2 separate regions of the Homo sapiens genome follow, and region 1 is linked to region 2. Evidence: promoter capture Hi-C in 16 types of primary human blood cells and fetal thymus (Javierre and others, 2016). All regions are on one chromosome and are shown on one strand. Each heading gives the region's core, a stretch centred on a gene start or on the middle of the fragment in contact. The rest is flanking DNA. Distances are from core to core; before and after follow the strand shown. Region 1 has its middle 46 kb from the start of KCTD3. Region 2 holds the start of PTPN14 (protein tyrosine phosphatase non-receptor type 14).

What was found. The method cuts DNA at HindIII sites, captures the fragments that hold promoters and counts their contacts. A CHiCAGO score of 5 or more calls a contact.
Region 1: a contact is called between a fragment that was not itself captured here and the fragment with the promoter of PTPN14 in region 2, in 1 of 17 cell types (total CD4 T cells). The highest score is 9.2, in total CD4 T cells.

What each region holds. Positions count from the first base shown.
Region 1 is chr1:215,517,508-215,524,141 of GRCh38, forward strand. No RefSeq gene overlaps it. Among named protein-coding and RNA genes, the nearest start is that of KCTD3, 46 kb to the right of the region's middle. The HindIII fragment of the contact is 6,428 bases long and covers 1,346-6,634 here.
Region 2 is chr1:214,547,734-214,554,898 of GRCh38, forward strand. It overlaps PTPN14 (protein tyrosine phosphatase non-receptor type 14), which reads right to left and starts at 3,869. Exons shown (of 19, transcript NM_005401.5): 1 at 3,450-3,869. RefSeq lists enhancers at 2,532-3,353, 3,354-4,174, 4,175-4,995. The HindIII fragment of the contact is 5,292 bases long and covers 1,827-7,118 here.

The DNA of each region.
Region 1 (6,634 bases), core at 3,310-5,809, 970 kb after region 2:
CTTCCCCTTTCCTCACTGGTGAAATCTATACGAAGACATACTTATGTAGATTATATAAACCCTTCTTTTCTGCTTAGTCATTGCAAAGTTAGAATCCTACGCACCATATGTGAGAAATCCCCCATCAATTAACAGACCCATGAAAACTACTCTGTACCCACTGTACTTTTGACTTAGGGGTTCTCCACCAGAGGTGATTCTGCTCCCTAAAGTGTTACCTGGCAATGTCTTGAGACTGTTCCATCTTCACAGCTTGGAGTGCTACTGGCATCTAGTGGGTGGAGACCAAGGATGCTGCTGTACCTCCTACAATGCACAGGACAACCCCAACGACAAGAATTATTCAACCCAAAATGTCAATAGTGCGGAAGTTGAGAAACCTCAAAACTGGTTCCCAGATTCTATTATTCACAGGAAGTTGTTTTCTTACCAAGGAATTAAACTCAAATCCAGGGACAGAATAGGAGTCAGATGCTAAGCTAGACTTAGAACTAAAAGCCAGATCAGATGTTGTGGCATAATATCTCGCATATAAATAGATTTGTAAATGTTAATTTTTTGCATTTATAACGTATTTACACCAGAGTGAAGACTCGGGAACCAGATTCCCTCAGATTAAATCCAAGTCCTGCCACTTACTAGCACGGCAATTTTGGCCAACTTAATTTCTATTCATCAGTTTCTGCGTCTGTAAAATGAGAATAACAATATATACCTCTCCTGGTAGTTGTGAGAATGATATTAGTTAATATTTGCAAAGCACTTAAAACAGTATCAAGCGTATGTTAAATACTGGTATGTGTCAGCTGATAGCACTTTTATAACTTATCTTTCTAATGACTGTAAAATGCAAGTCTACAATGCAGGACCACCTTCCTGGCATCAAAGTTTGAAAGAAAAGAAATCAGATTCCTTGGTATGTAGAATAAATTATATAGATATAAGCAAAATTCTATCTGGAATAGCCTGATAAACTGTTGTTGTTGTTGTTTTACTTTCCATAGGTCATCATTTTTAAGGCACATTTTTTCAAATTTGAGAATTCTTAAAATTGGCATATTTCATCATTTTTAAGGCACACTTTTTCAAATTTGAGGATTCCTAAAATTGGTATCTTACCAACATGTGCTTTCTCACACATCACTCTCAGCCAAATTGCAATCGTGATCCAGTTATTATTAACTATCTACCCACAAACATGGTTGTTGGTCCTTGCAATATGACTGAATAACTGCAATCTTGATGCTTCAGCTGATAAATCACTTAAGGGCCATTTGAGGAAGGTGTGTCCTTCCTGATTGACATCTAAAAACCTTCTTTCGGCACTTCCTGGTCAGATCAAGAAAGCTTCATCACCAATACTTTCTGCAGCAGCTTGTAAGAAAATCTTACTGACAGTAGTGAAGTCTTGATGGAGATACTGATCTTAATGATTTTGAGACCAAAAAAAAAACTGTAAAAATAAACTGTAAAGGTGAAGAGGTTTTAGGAATGCCTTAAGCAATTATTTCACTTACATTTTTCTCTGTACAAGAGTAATATGTAATAAAAGTTTATGTTTAAATAAGTTTAAAAAATATCTTTTGTGAGTATAAAAGTGAACACTATTTGAAAAAGCATTTATTTGCAGTTTTTTTTCTTAGTGCAACTTAGCAAACATTAGCACACCTTACAGATGATAGCATCTTAGGGTTGATGAAATTTGGTGGTCAGAGCCACAATCCTTAGCAACTGGAGTATGTGTGCCCACCAAGTTCAATGGCCTCCTCAATGGTCAGTGACAGATGATCTAAGATAAAATTTGTTCCTACTATCTATTAAAATGAGTTACTAAAAATATAACTACCATATTTAATAGAAAGTGACAATATAATTAAGAATATTGCATTTTTCACAAGATTTCAGTTTAGAACTACTCATCTTTACACATGCTTGCAATATTATTCTCTTTTTGCTTAGTTATGAGAACTAAAAATACTATCTTAAGCCCCCCAATTGACTAAATGGACCTCCTCTTGGCCAAGGGGACCTCAGAGAAACCGTAAAAAAGTGAGTTCCAGGCCATGATGGAATGGGAGGTCAGACATGCCTCATTACACTCCCACCCTCTTGCAGTTTAGACACAACTGACCAGCATTAACGTTAAAATAGAGATCATAAGACTGATAGAATGGACTCTTGGGGCAATAATTTACCAAATTATAAACAGGACCAAGGCCATGCCAGACAATGGTTAAGTGATGCATCCCTATACTTAAAGAATAAACTATGGGCCGGGTACAGTGGCTCGCGCCTGTAATCCCAGCACTTTGGGAGGCCGAGGCGGGCAGATCACCAGAGGTCAGGAGTTCGAGACCAACCTGGCCAACATGGTGAAACCCCCCCAGGCGTGGGGGCATGTGCCTGTAATCCCAGCTACTCCAGAGGCTGGGACAGGAGAATTGCTTGAACCCAGGAGGCAGAGGTTGCAGTGAGCTGAGATTATACCACTGCACTCCAGCTGGGGTGACAGAGCAACACTCCGTCTCAAAAAAAAATTAAAAAATAAAGAAAGAATAAACTATGTTCTAGTTGCCGTGAGTTTTTTTTTTTTTTTTTTCCTTCTTCTTCTTCTTCTTCTTCTCTATCACCTAAATAAGCACTGGCCTAGAAATGAGCAATACTGAAGCAAGTGGATTTCACCACTACCAGACACTGACTAACTGACCTCCCTCTTCCACAAGCCATAACTGCAGCTTTGACTGGACAAGACATTAATTTTAATAACTTTATCCTGATAAGAAGACCACTGATTATAGACTGGTTCTGGCCAATTTACAAAGGCTGCCCACTTGAGTGTCTTCATGTTCCTGCTTCACCTTTTGATGTATAGGCCTAATTGTAATACATTTAAATGTTGTCTCCACTTCAAAGTGAACATGGGTTGCATGCAAATGCATGTTTATTTCAGTACACATTCATTAGGACCCACTTCATTTATAGCTCCTCCTATAACCTGTTGAGTATGTATACTTAGCAAACCCATCAGCATAAATCCCTTTTCCACCTTCTCCTCCCACAAAGTGCCTGCTAACTGCTTCTGCCAGAGGCTATGCTTCCTAGCCTCTCAGGATGGGTACCTTGCAGGCCGTAACCCTTTATTTAAAAAAAAAAAAAAAAAATCTCCTTTCCAAATTTATAGACTGTGTGATTTTTAAATTAATAGTTAACTGTTACTTGTCCTTCATATCTCAGCTTTGATGGCAGCTTCTCTTAGCTATCTATTCTGATTCCCTAGACCTGGGTGAGGTGCCCATCAATGGTTCCCAGAGCACCTTGGGAATGAATCCTCTTATTCTTCTATTACCTATTGATTATACTTGCCTGCAGTCCTTGAAGGGACTCAGTCTTGATCTCTGCTGTTGTGCCGGCACCTATTATGGTGTCTAGCATAAACACAAAGTGCTCAAAATTTATTTGTTTAACTGAATACCCCATGGTCTTTTAATGGAGACTTGGGAAAAAAACACACACATTCCACATTATTAGTAAAAGAATAACATTCATTCCATCCACAAATATTTATTATTCTGAGTACCAATATTGCTAAAATGGACAAGGCGAGCAAACTCCCTGCCATCTCAGAACTTTCCGACATCAAACAAATACATGAATATAGAGTACATTATGTGAGATGGTGATGAGTGCTAGCTATGGAGAAAAACCAAGCAGGCTAAGGGAGCAGGCTGGAATGGTGTGGTAGTTCCTTTACATAGGACCGTCACACTCCCTGATGAGTGCCATCTGAACAGAGACCCGAAGGGAGTCAGGGGACTAGCCAAGCAGGTATCTGAATGAGGAGCACTCTAGGCAGAGAGAAAGTCATGTGCAAAGATCTTCATGCAAGAGAGGACTTTGTAGGCTTCCTCATTGTGTGGCTGGAGGAGAACATGCATAGGAACAAAATGGTAGGAAATTAGGTTAAAGAAGTGGCCCGGTCACGTGATGGCTTTAGGCCACTGGGTGTTATTCAGAGTTTGATAGAAATCATTAGAGAAGCATCTCCCTTTGGTGAATCAATTCTACTGAAGTTTTTCTCATCCATCAAATATTTTGTCACCTTAATAAAGCCCTGCTGATTTTGTTGCCAGGCCCTGAGGATCATGTTGTGTGGATGCTTTGGCTCTACCCCAAGCACAGAGCCATTGAAAATTTATTATGCAATTAAAAAGGCTTAGGGAATGAATGAATGATTGGGTGTAGCCCAACATATGAGGCCTGGGTCAATCCTATTCTATTCATGAACAATACTGGCAATTAGAAGCAAGCCTGATGAGCTGTGTTCATTGTGCCATTGTTCCTTCACTCCAGAATGTACTTTCCACATCTGTGTCCCTTTCTCCTACCACTGGAGTCAGAAGTAACTAATTGTACGCAGTGATCCTTCTGTCCTTTGGGTCATGAAAAGAGCACTGCAGTTGAAGTCAGAATACCTGAAATTGTATTTTTCTTTTCTTTTTTGTGACAGAGTTTCACTCTTGTTGCCCAGGCTGGGGTGCAGTAGCACCATCTCAGCTCACTGCAACCTCCACCTCCCAGGTTCAAGCGAGTCTCCTGCCTCAGCCTCCCGTGTAGCTGGGATTACAGGTGCACGCCACCACGCCTGGCTAATTTTTTGTATTTTTAGTAGAGATAGGGTTTCACCATGTTGGCCAGGCTGGTCTCGAACTCCTGACCTCAGGTGATGCAGCCGCCTCAGCCTCCCAAAGTGCAGGGATTACAGGCAGGAGCCACCGTGCCCAGCCTGAAATTGTGTTTTTCAAAGCATGAGTTTTTAAATCAGACAGACCTCAGTTTGTGACAAGTCAGTCAATATTACTTTTCTAAGTTGTAAAATTGCGATGATAATATCTACCTTTAGGAGTTTTGTGAGAATTACGATTGTTAGATTAAGAATTTATCATGATATCCAGCAAACAGTAAATATATAATAGGATTTTTAATTTATAAATTTACATTTATTCTATGTGCTCAAGCATTTGAGGAAATAATTTCAGACTCAACAGATATTTATTATGTTCTGTAAGGAACTTTCCACGGTTGGATGCGCATGATGGTTATTTGTGCCTGTGTCTATTCTTACTCAAGAGTGTGTATTCTTTGAGATTAGAATTACAAGCAGGTAATTTTTCTGATGGTCTGTGTCTGAAAAGGTAGATGCTCAATAAATGTGTAGAGTGTGAGCAACTGGGTCTCACAGATGTCTGTGGGTTTTTTCGGAGCCAGATAAATTCACATGATCCTTCTCCATCCTTCCCTTAACTTGTCAAGGTAAAGAGGGACATGGTGGCCTGCTTCATCCTCTCCATCGCACCAGGGTATCTCTAGGTTAGATTTCCCAAGGAAGTCAGTCTCCAAGATGGTTCACCCTCAAACAAACCTGTGTGTCTTCCTGTCTAGAATGTTTTAGACATTCCCAGTGCCATTGCATATTCTTCCATGTAATTAATTAAGTCTCCAGTGGAACCAGCCTGGCAGCCTGAGAAACATAACAAGACCTGCCCCCAACCCCATCTCCAGAAAGAAAGAAAACTTGAACTACTTCTAAGCAGCCTTTCATTTACAGGGTTTTTTGGGTCACATGCAAATGTAATGGATTCCAGTAATTTGAATATAATATGCCCTCAGTAAGTTTTATTTGTTCTTTGAGTCCATCTCTCCTCAGTTAAGCCTATCATTTTGTTTCTGTTCCTGGTAAGTCATGCGTTTGACAACTCATTATAGCATATGACTGGGGCAGTGCACCTCTGGGAACCAAATCAGCTGGTTAATGCCAGGTTTAAGGGGAATAATAGTCAAGCAGTTTGCTAAAGTCTTCTGGAGTTTGTACTTGTATTACTCAGCAGCTTTGGGCATACATGGGCACGCACACTCTAACACAATCAAAGCGAGAAGCTACAATGTTTTCTGAATTTGGTATCAGAATATCAAGACGATAATTTTCTACTTTTCAATTTTTTGGAACTACTACGTTAATCTTTATGAAAGTTTGTAGTAAATAATTAAAATACTTAGAGATATGTAAGAAAACACAATGAATTCCTCAGGCATAGTGTGATATTCCATTTTATAAAGTTCAATTTAGGGAGAAAATTTGAAATGAAAAATCTTACGTGAGTAAGTAGTGCCACAGTGTGGTTACAATTGATAATTTATTTCAGTTCCTGTGCTTTGAATAACCGATAATCCAAGCTAAGACTTCTGTAATCTAAAAAACTCCCTTCTCTACCAATATCAATGATCCTGACTTCACAGGTCTACACAATCAGTTATATTGCTCACGCATATATTTTCAATAGACCACTTTAATAGCTCACAAAGTACTTCATAGCTATCTTGTCAATTACAAAGGACAGATATTAAAACCTTCATTTTTTAAACAAGAAAAACTGAAACTCAAAATATCTGGCTGTTAATGTTTATAAGGCACTTAAATGACAGAGATGAGACTAAACCTTCAGCTTCTGGGTCCTTGTGAGTACATCTTGATGAATACAAGAACATGTGGGATTAGGGGTCAGAAGTCCAGGGCTGCCAACTAAGCTCTGTCACATGATTAATTGTGTGCTATTAAGCAAGTCACTTAAATCCGTAA
Region 2 (7,165 bases), core at 2,619-5,118:
TCATTACAGTAAGAAGTATACAAGGAAAAGGATCTTGTTCTCTGCCCTTCTAATCTCTCAGTGGCTTTCCCTCCTCAAACTTCTCTACTGCCTGGTCCCCCACCTCTCAATTTCCTCTTGTAGGAGGAGCCACATGGCAGCTGCCAGCCAACATGTTTATTTTGAGCCAATAGACTGAAAAAAAAAAAAAAGTCAAAAACAAAGCTTTATGTGTATGTTGACACACATGTGAATTCAGGCTGCTGAAAAAAATCACACACAAAGAGCACATTCATGGCCACATACAAGTCCTTGAACATATAAATAGCCATCCTTGACCTATTCTGTGTGAGGTACTGTTATACAGCATGACACTGAATTCTCCATACATATCCTGAGAGGCCAAATGTTACCAGATCCATTTTGCAGATGAAGAAACTGAGGCTCAGAAGGGCTATGACGTCCATCCAACATCACACAGCTAAAAAATGGCAGCGCTAGAATTCCAACCTAGCTATATTTCAAACTCCCAAACCTGGACCGCCTGCTCCAGCACACTGACAGCCAGGAAAAGCTACAGAATTTGCCACACATACCCCTTGGACCACTCAATAAGCCCTCCATGGGATGCATACAGAGGAAGCGTAAATTAAATCAATTTAAATCCGTAAGGGGAGATCCAAAAGCGTATTTTAACATTAACTTGAACCTCCTCCCTACCAAAGCTTTCGTGTTTGTTTTCCCTCATTCCTTAATTGGCTAATTAAGTATTTCATCTTGTCTTTCTCATGCCTTATCTCTAACAAAGCTCACAGCACTGTTCTCAGGCTTAAAATGAATTTTTTAAAAACACAGCATTTGGTGACTAAGTAATGAAGCTCAAATGCAAGAATTTGATGAAATCCTTGTTCAAAAATGACAAGAATATGGAACCCAGGGGGGCTATAATATGTAATCAAAGGGTTGATGTTTGCTTCCCCGGAGCAAATTTAAACCTCTAATAAGGAAGGAAGGCACTGGAAAATAAAAAATCCTCATAGTTCTTGACACTTAGCCCATCCGTTCAGGGCAAATAAGAATTATTCTAAAAATTCTGATTTTTCTCTGAATTCCTTATGGTGCTTCCCTATTAAAAGCCTAACTGTCCTTTCTATTACAGCTACCAGCATGACACAGTATGCACAAATCTGAATAACTCAAGTGTTAATAATAATTACATGTTTAAGCCAATGATGGAAACTGGGCAAATGTCTGGGATTAGTGGGAGTGGGCTTCTCTTCAGCCATTTCTCTCATGCAGGTCCCTACACCTTCAGGAAAACTTCTGTGAAGGGGCTGTTCCTGAGATAAGAAAAGATGCTGGTAGAGGGGCTTGGATAAACACCCAAAGTTGTAGGAAGTCAGTGTGTTCTTCCCACTCTGATGTACTGGCCTGAGGTCACCAAAAGCTGGATGTCTGCCACCTCAGCCAGGACTCAGCCACTATGAACAATACTACAACACCACTTCAGTCCAGTGAAGAGACACCCTTGAAAGGCAAACCACGTACAGAATGCTACTGCATTGTAAGAAACTTTTCTAGGCAGGATTTGCTGAATCCTGGGCCATTAGTCTACAAAAATGTGCAAGATAGTGTTTTCTATTTTCATAAAGTTTCAGAGAAAAGAACGACTTTAGCACAACTGTGCTAAAGCAATAGTAATGACTTAAAAGCAGAGAAAAGTATAACAAACTTAGTGACATACAGATGAACGAATTTTGCACCTCATGGCCACCCATTCAGACTGGGCAAAAAGGGCATCATGCCATTCAGCTCCCGCTCATTAAGGCTGTCATTTCTATGGCACAAGCTTCAACCTCATCACCAAACAATTAGCTAACTTTATAATACAAGGTCCGTAATGCTGCGGTATTACCACACCTACGGCTGTCAAACAGCCTTTTTAAAAAAGGAATCATTGCTTGAATGTGGGGGACAAAAAAGAAGAATCAATACCATTTTAATGAAACCGAGCATGGGCCAATTAAAATGTAGATGATCATACAACAGCTGCTTGTGGTAAAACAGCAGCAGGCATGGAGGTGTATCCAATTAGGGAGGCCTTGGCTCCTCGGTAAGCTACTTGTGGTTCCCATAAGTGGCTAACGTGCTTCTAGATTTATTTCTGATATTGGGGGTGGAGAGAATGCTATCCCAGCAACACTGCACCAACATGGCCATAAATGCCCCTCAGGCCCCCAGATGGCTAGGGAAACTTTCTGTCCTTCTTGTGTTCACTCTGCACGAGCTGTTTCCTCTGCCTGGAATACACCCTCCAGAGGAGCACAACCTCTATCCTCTAAGTGTAGTGCACCCTTCACCAGGACCAAGCTCGCCTCAGACTCTCACAGAACCCCTCTTCCATGTATTATCATTCTTCACCGGCCTTCAAGTTTCCTCCACTAGGCTGCAGACTCCTGCCCTGTGATCTCATTTAGCATCTTTCTATCCTGTTCCTAGCAGAGTAGAAGCTGGGTTTGTTGGATGAATGAGTAAACTAATCCATTTCAAGAAGTTAACACATTGGTGGAAACTCTGTAACTGCCCGCACCTGCAGTCTAGAGATTCCTCACCTTCACAAAGAACCTGCGACAGCCAGTCCCTAGACTTAAGCGGAAACCCCACAATTTCTGAAATTGTAGGTGGGGATGAGAAGGTTGGAGAACAAGAACCCAAGGAAGTGAGAGGGAAAGGGAGATAGGGGCAGCGTTACCTCACTGCTCTCTCCAAACGAAAAGGTGTAAACCCCATTTACAAGTATTCAAACCTGAGATCTGGGGGTCACGTGGGGAAGGAGAGGCTGTTAATACCTACAACTTTGGAAGTTTGAGGTGAAGACCTGATCTGAAATTGTTTGGCCACAGCTTTTTTTCTACGAGCCAGCTCGACCACCCAAGTAGGAGCCTCGACGCCCAGGAGTTCGGTGGCACCACTGGGGCCTAGTGAGAGGGCAGGAAAACTCCGCTCCCCTCAAGATTCCTTCCCGGTGGTGGTGGGGTGTGATTGGGAGCGTCGGGCAGCTGCATCCCCCTACCGCTGCAGCGACCGCGACGTCGTTCGTCTTTCATCCTCTAGCCCCCAAGGTCTAGGTATCTCTAGTTGCCCTTCCGAGGCCCTCTCTCGTTCCCAAAACGCAGAAGGGAATGGAGAGAGGGGACCAGGGTGTGGGTTTAACCACAAACTCCCCAGACTGCGCTCACCTTCCAGCTCGCTCCCGGGACCAGCTTTGCGCCTCACCGCGGGCAGCTCCCACCGCGAGATAACACCCCTGCGGCCCGGCCACCCCGCGCCCCAGGCTGCCCTGCCAGGCGTCCCGGGGCGCCAATCGCAAGTTGGCGTTGCCAGCGTCTGCCCAAGTCATCTGCAGGGCGCCCGGAGCGCCAAGGCGGCCTCCAACCTCGGGCCCAACTCCCGGCTTGGACGGGGCTTACCTGCTTACATGGCCCCCGTGGCGCCCCGGAGTCCCGCGCGGAAAGGCTGTCCTTCGCGGCGGCGGAGCCGATTCCCCACGGAATTGATTCCAGTGACTGGCGGAGGAGGGGCGAAGGGAAGGAGCCGCAGGAGGCGAAAGGGGAGGGAGGTTTCCGCCGCGATCCCGGCGCGAGAGTCCGAGCAGAGGCGCACCGGGGGAGAAAAGGAGAAAAACCTAAGCACGGGGCTGTCCCGCCCGAGGAGGCCGGGGAGGATGGCTCAGCTGGGAGGGGAAGGAGCGCCAGTGGCCACTTGATGTCTGTCTAGGGCTCCCCGAGGACCTGAGCCAGGAGAGCAGGCGGCTGAGCCCGGAGAAGCACAGCAACCTGCCCCCGAGTCTGCGCCCGCTGCGCTCACTCCGCCGAGAAAAAGTTGGAAAGAACTTTGAGGGGCCGGGAGAGCCAGAGCGGCAGGAAATGCGAGCGGCCGGGAGAGGAGGGAGGAAGGGGCCGTGCGAGTGGGAGGGGACGGAGCAGGCGCCGGCGGCCACGGCTCCCCCACCCCAGAGCCGGGCTCCGCGGCCCTGGGGGCCGGGAGGCGGAGGGAGCGCTGGGCGCGCGGCCGGGGGCGGGGAGGAATGCGGCCCGGGAGGGCGCGCGCCGGGGGCGCCGCGGGCGCGCGCTGAAACGTGGAGCCCCAGCTCCCGAGCTCCCGAGCTGGAGGCGCGCCGTCCTTGGGGACGTCACAGCGCTGGAATCCGAGGAATGCCGGGCTGCAGGAGCTCCTTCTGCAGGCCCGGAGAAGTCGCACACTTTTAATGGGGTAGTTTTGGAAAATGTTTTAAAAGGTGGGGGCCGAGGACGGAGGACCGGATGAAACTCCCTGGAGTAAGAGACGTGGAAGTGGAGAGAGCAAGGCGACCGCAGCCACCCCAACCCTGGGCTGCTCCCGCCGTTGGGGAGAAAGAGGCAAGGCAAGGAAGAGCCCACCTAGACTTCCGAGGACCGCAGAGACGGGGCGGCGGCAGGAACTTGCTCACCCCGACCTACATTCAGAATAGTCCACCTTATATTGGGGAACCCTCCAAGCAGGACGTTTCATGCAGCCACCCCACAGGGGAAAACAGACCAGGAGAAAGTAAGGTGGCCTCACCAAGTAGGCAATCTCAGAGATCTCTCCCTAGAATCTCTGGGTACTGGACCCGGTGTCTTAGCCTTCTCTCCCTGCCCCCTCCCGCCCCGTAGGAATGATAAAAAGCAGCCTGTGTGCTGAGAGTTGGAAAATGTCGTTTTCCCGGTTTGTTCCATGCCACAGAATCGCCCCACCCTGCCTGGGTAGGCACTGGGAGGGAACTTCCTTAGCACTTTCGGAGGTGGAGTTAATGAGACGCAGCTGGTATGATGGAAAAAGCTCGGAGCCAGGCGACTGAACCTGGGTTTTAGGCCCTGCCCGATTGGATAACTGAGGAGTATCCCAGCCCCTGAGATCCTAGGTTTCTGTAGCTGCAAAATTAAATAATTTGTCTAGATTTCTGTGGTCCTTTGCATTGCTACAAACATGTCTTGGGATTTATCTCGGTAAGATTCCAGTCCTTTGTTGAAAAGGGACCTTGAAGTCGTTGGCACACAATGTATTGTCCCAAATCACTTCAGTGTCCGGCAACTCATGCAAAAATTCCTGGCCTCTTGGGGAAGAGAATTGGAAACCAAAAAGCGCGGTGGCTCACACCTGTAATCCCAGCACTTTGGGAAGCCAAAGCTGGGGGATTGGCTGAGCTCAGAAGTTCGACACCAGCCCGGGCAACACGGTGAAACCCCGTCTCTACTAAAATTCAAAAAATGTTTCGGGGGTGGCGGCGTGCGCCTGTAGTCCCAGCTACTCTGGGGCTGAGGCAGGTTAATTGCTTGAACTTGGGAGGCGGAGGTTGCAGTGAGCCGAGATCGCGCCACTGCACTCCAGCCTGGGCTACACGGCCAGACTCCTCTCAAAAAAATAAAATAAAATAAAATAAAATAAAATAAATAAATCCGTAGTGACTCTGATTTTCTTCGAGCATCTGCCAATCTCTAGAACTGTAAATTAGAGAAAACGCCGAGTGCAATGCAAAAGTGATGGAAAGAAAAGGTTGAAGGGAAATCAACTTTCTCACATTTTAAAGGAAATAGCTGTACAGACGTGCTGGGTTTCCAAAGAAAACATTAGGCAGTGCCTGACTGTGTTCCAGAAAGTGTGGAAAGCACTCCCCCATTCCTAGATGAGGAAAGTGAGGCATGAAGAAATTACCTGTCTCACTGAGGGTCATACAACTAGGAAGATATGATCAGGGCCCTAGTCTGTCAGGCCTAAAGTGCATGCTCTTCATCTCTTTGAAATTGGACCCAAACAGGATTAGGATTAAAGATAAGAAAATGCCTTCAGGATCTCAATGTAAAACTCTGGCCTTTGCTCTTTCCTGGGAGATGGGAGACCTCTTGCTTGGTGTCTTTTCTAGTGAAAAGACACTAGGAAATATATTGTGTTGCTCTAACATCACTGTGCTACCAAACTGAGCACAGCACCCTGAGGCTGTTGTGGCATAAAAGAAGCAGCAAAGGACTTGTTGTCCTTCTTGGGCAGACACAAGGGTTCCGGTTCTGCCTCTGACCAGCCTTGGGACCCTGATCAAGGCACTTCACCTCTAGGCCTGAATTTATTTTCTAAGTAGAGTGTGGCAAAGAGGGCAGAGCTTGGTTGGAATAGTTCATCTCTGAGGTCTTTCCCAGGACTAAACTTCCATCAAAGTACTCTTCTCCAGATAGATGGCATGCCTGTGGAGGAAGCTAAGCAATAAAGCCAGTGGATAAAGCCAGTGTCTGGGGACAGGACTGTTTTCACACCGCCTTCAGATGAAAATGAATGTTGAGACTCCAATGAATGTGGCTGAGTGTTCAATGATAAGTAAAGCTAAGATTTAGCACTAACCCTGTGGACACATTTTAAAAATTTAGATAATTTTACTTACAGGAAGACAGTCTGGGCAACATGGCGAAACCCCAACTCTACACAAAATACAAAAATTAGTCAGGTATGGTAGCTCGAGGCTTGTAGTCCCAGCTACTAGAGAGGCTGAGGTGGGAGGATTGCATGAGCCTGAGAGACCGAGGCTGCAATGAGCTGAGATCACACCACTGCACTCCAGCCTGGGTGACAGAGTGAGATCCTCTCTTGAAAAAGAAAAAAAATATGCGTTATTAACTTAAAAGCCTATAGAGTGTATCTGACTAGCCATATTTCTTTTTCTTTAGAATAGATCACAGAAAGGCAATACAAATAAGAATATTTTCTAAGGCCGGGCGCGGTGGCTCACACCTATAATCCCAGCACTTTGGGAGGCCGAGGCGGGTGGATCACGAGGTCAGGAGATCGAGACCACAGTGAAACCCCTTCTCTACTAAAAATACAAAATTAGCCAGGCGTGGTGGTGGGCGCCTGCAGTCCCATCTACTTGGGAGGCTGAGGCAGGAGAATGGCGTGAACCCAGGAGGTGGAGCTTGCAGTGACCCGAGATCGCGCCATGGCACTCCAGCCTGGGCGACAGAGCAAGGCTTCGTCTCAAAAAAAAAAAAAAAGAATATTTTCTAAATAGAAAGTACAGCTTGAAGTGACAAAAACCTTTCATTCTCAGGATAAATATATAAAAGCTAGTTTCAAGCTTCTTTCAAAAAGAAAAAAGAAACCCATTTCCTAAATCTTTGTC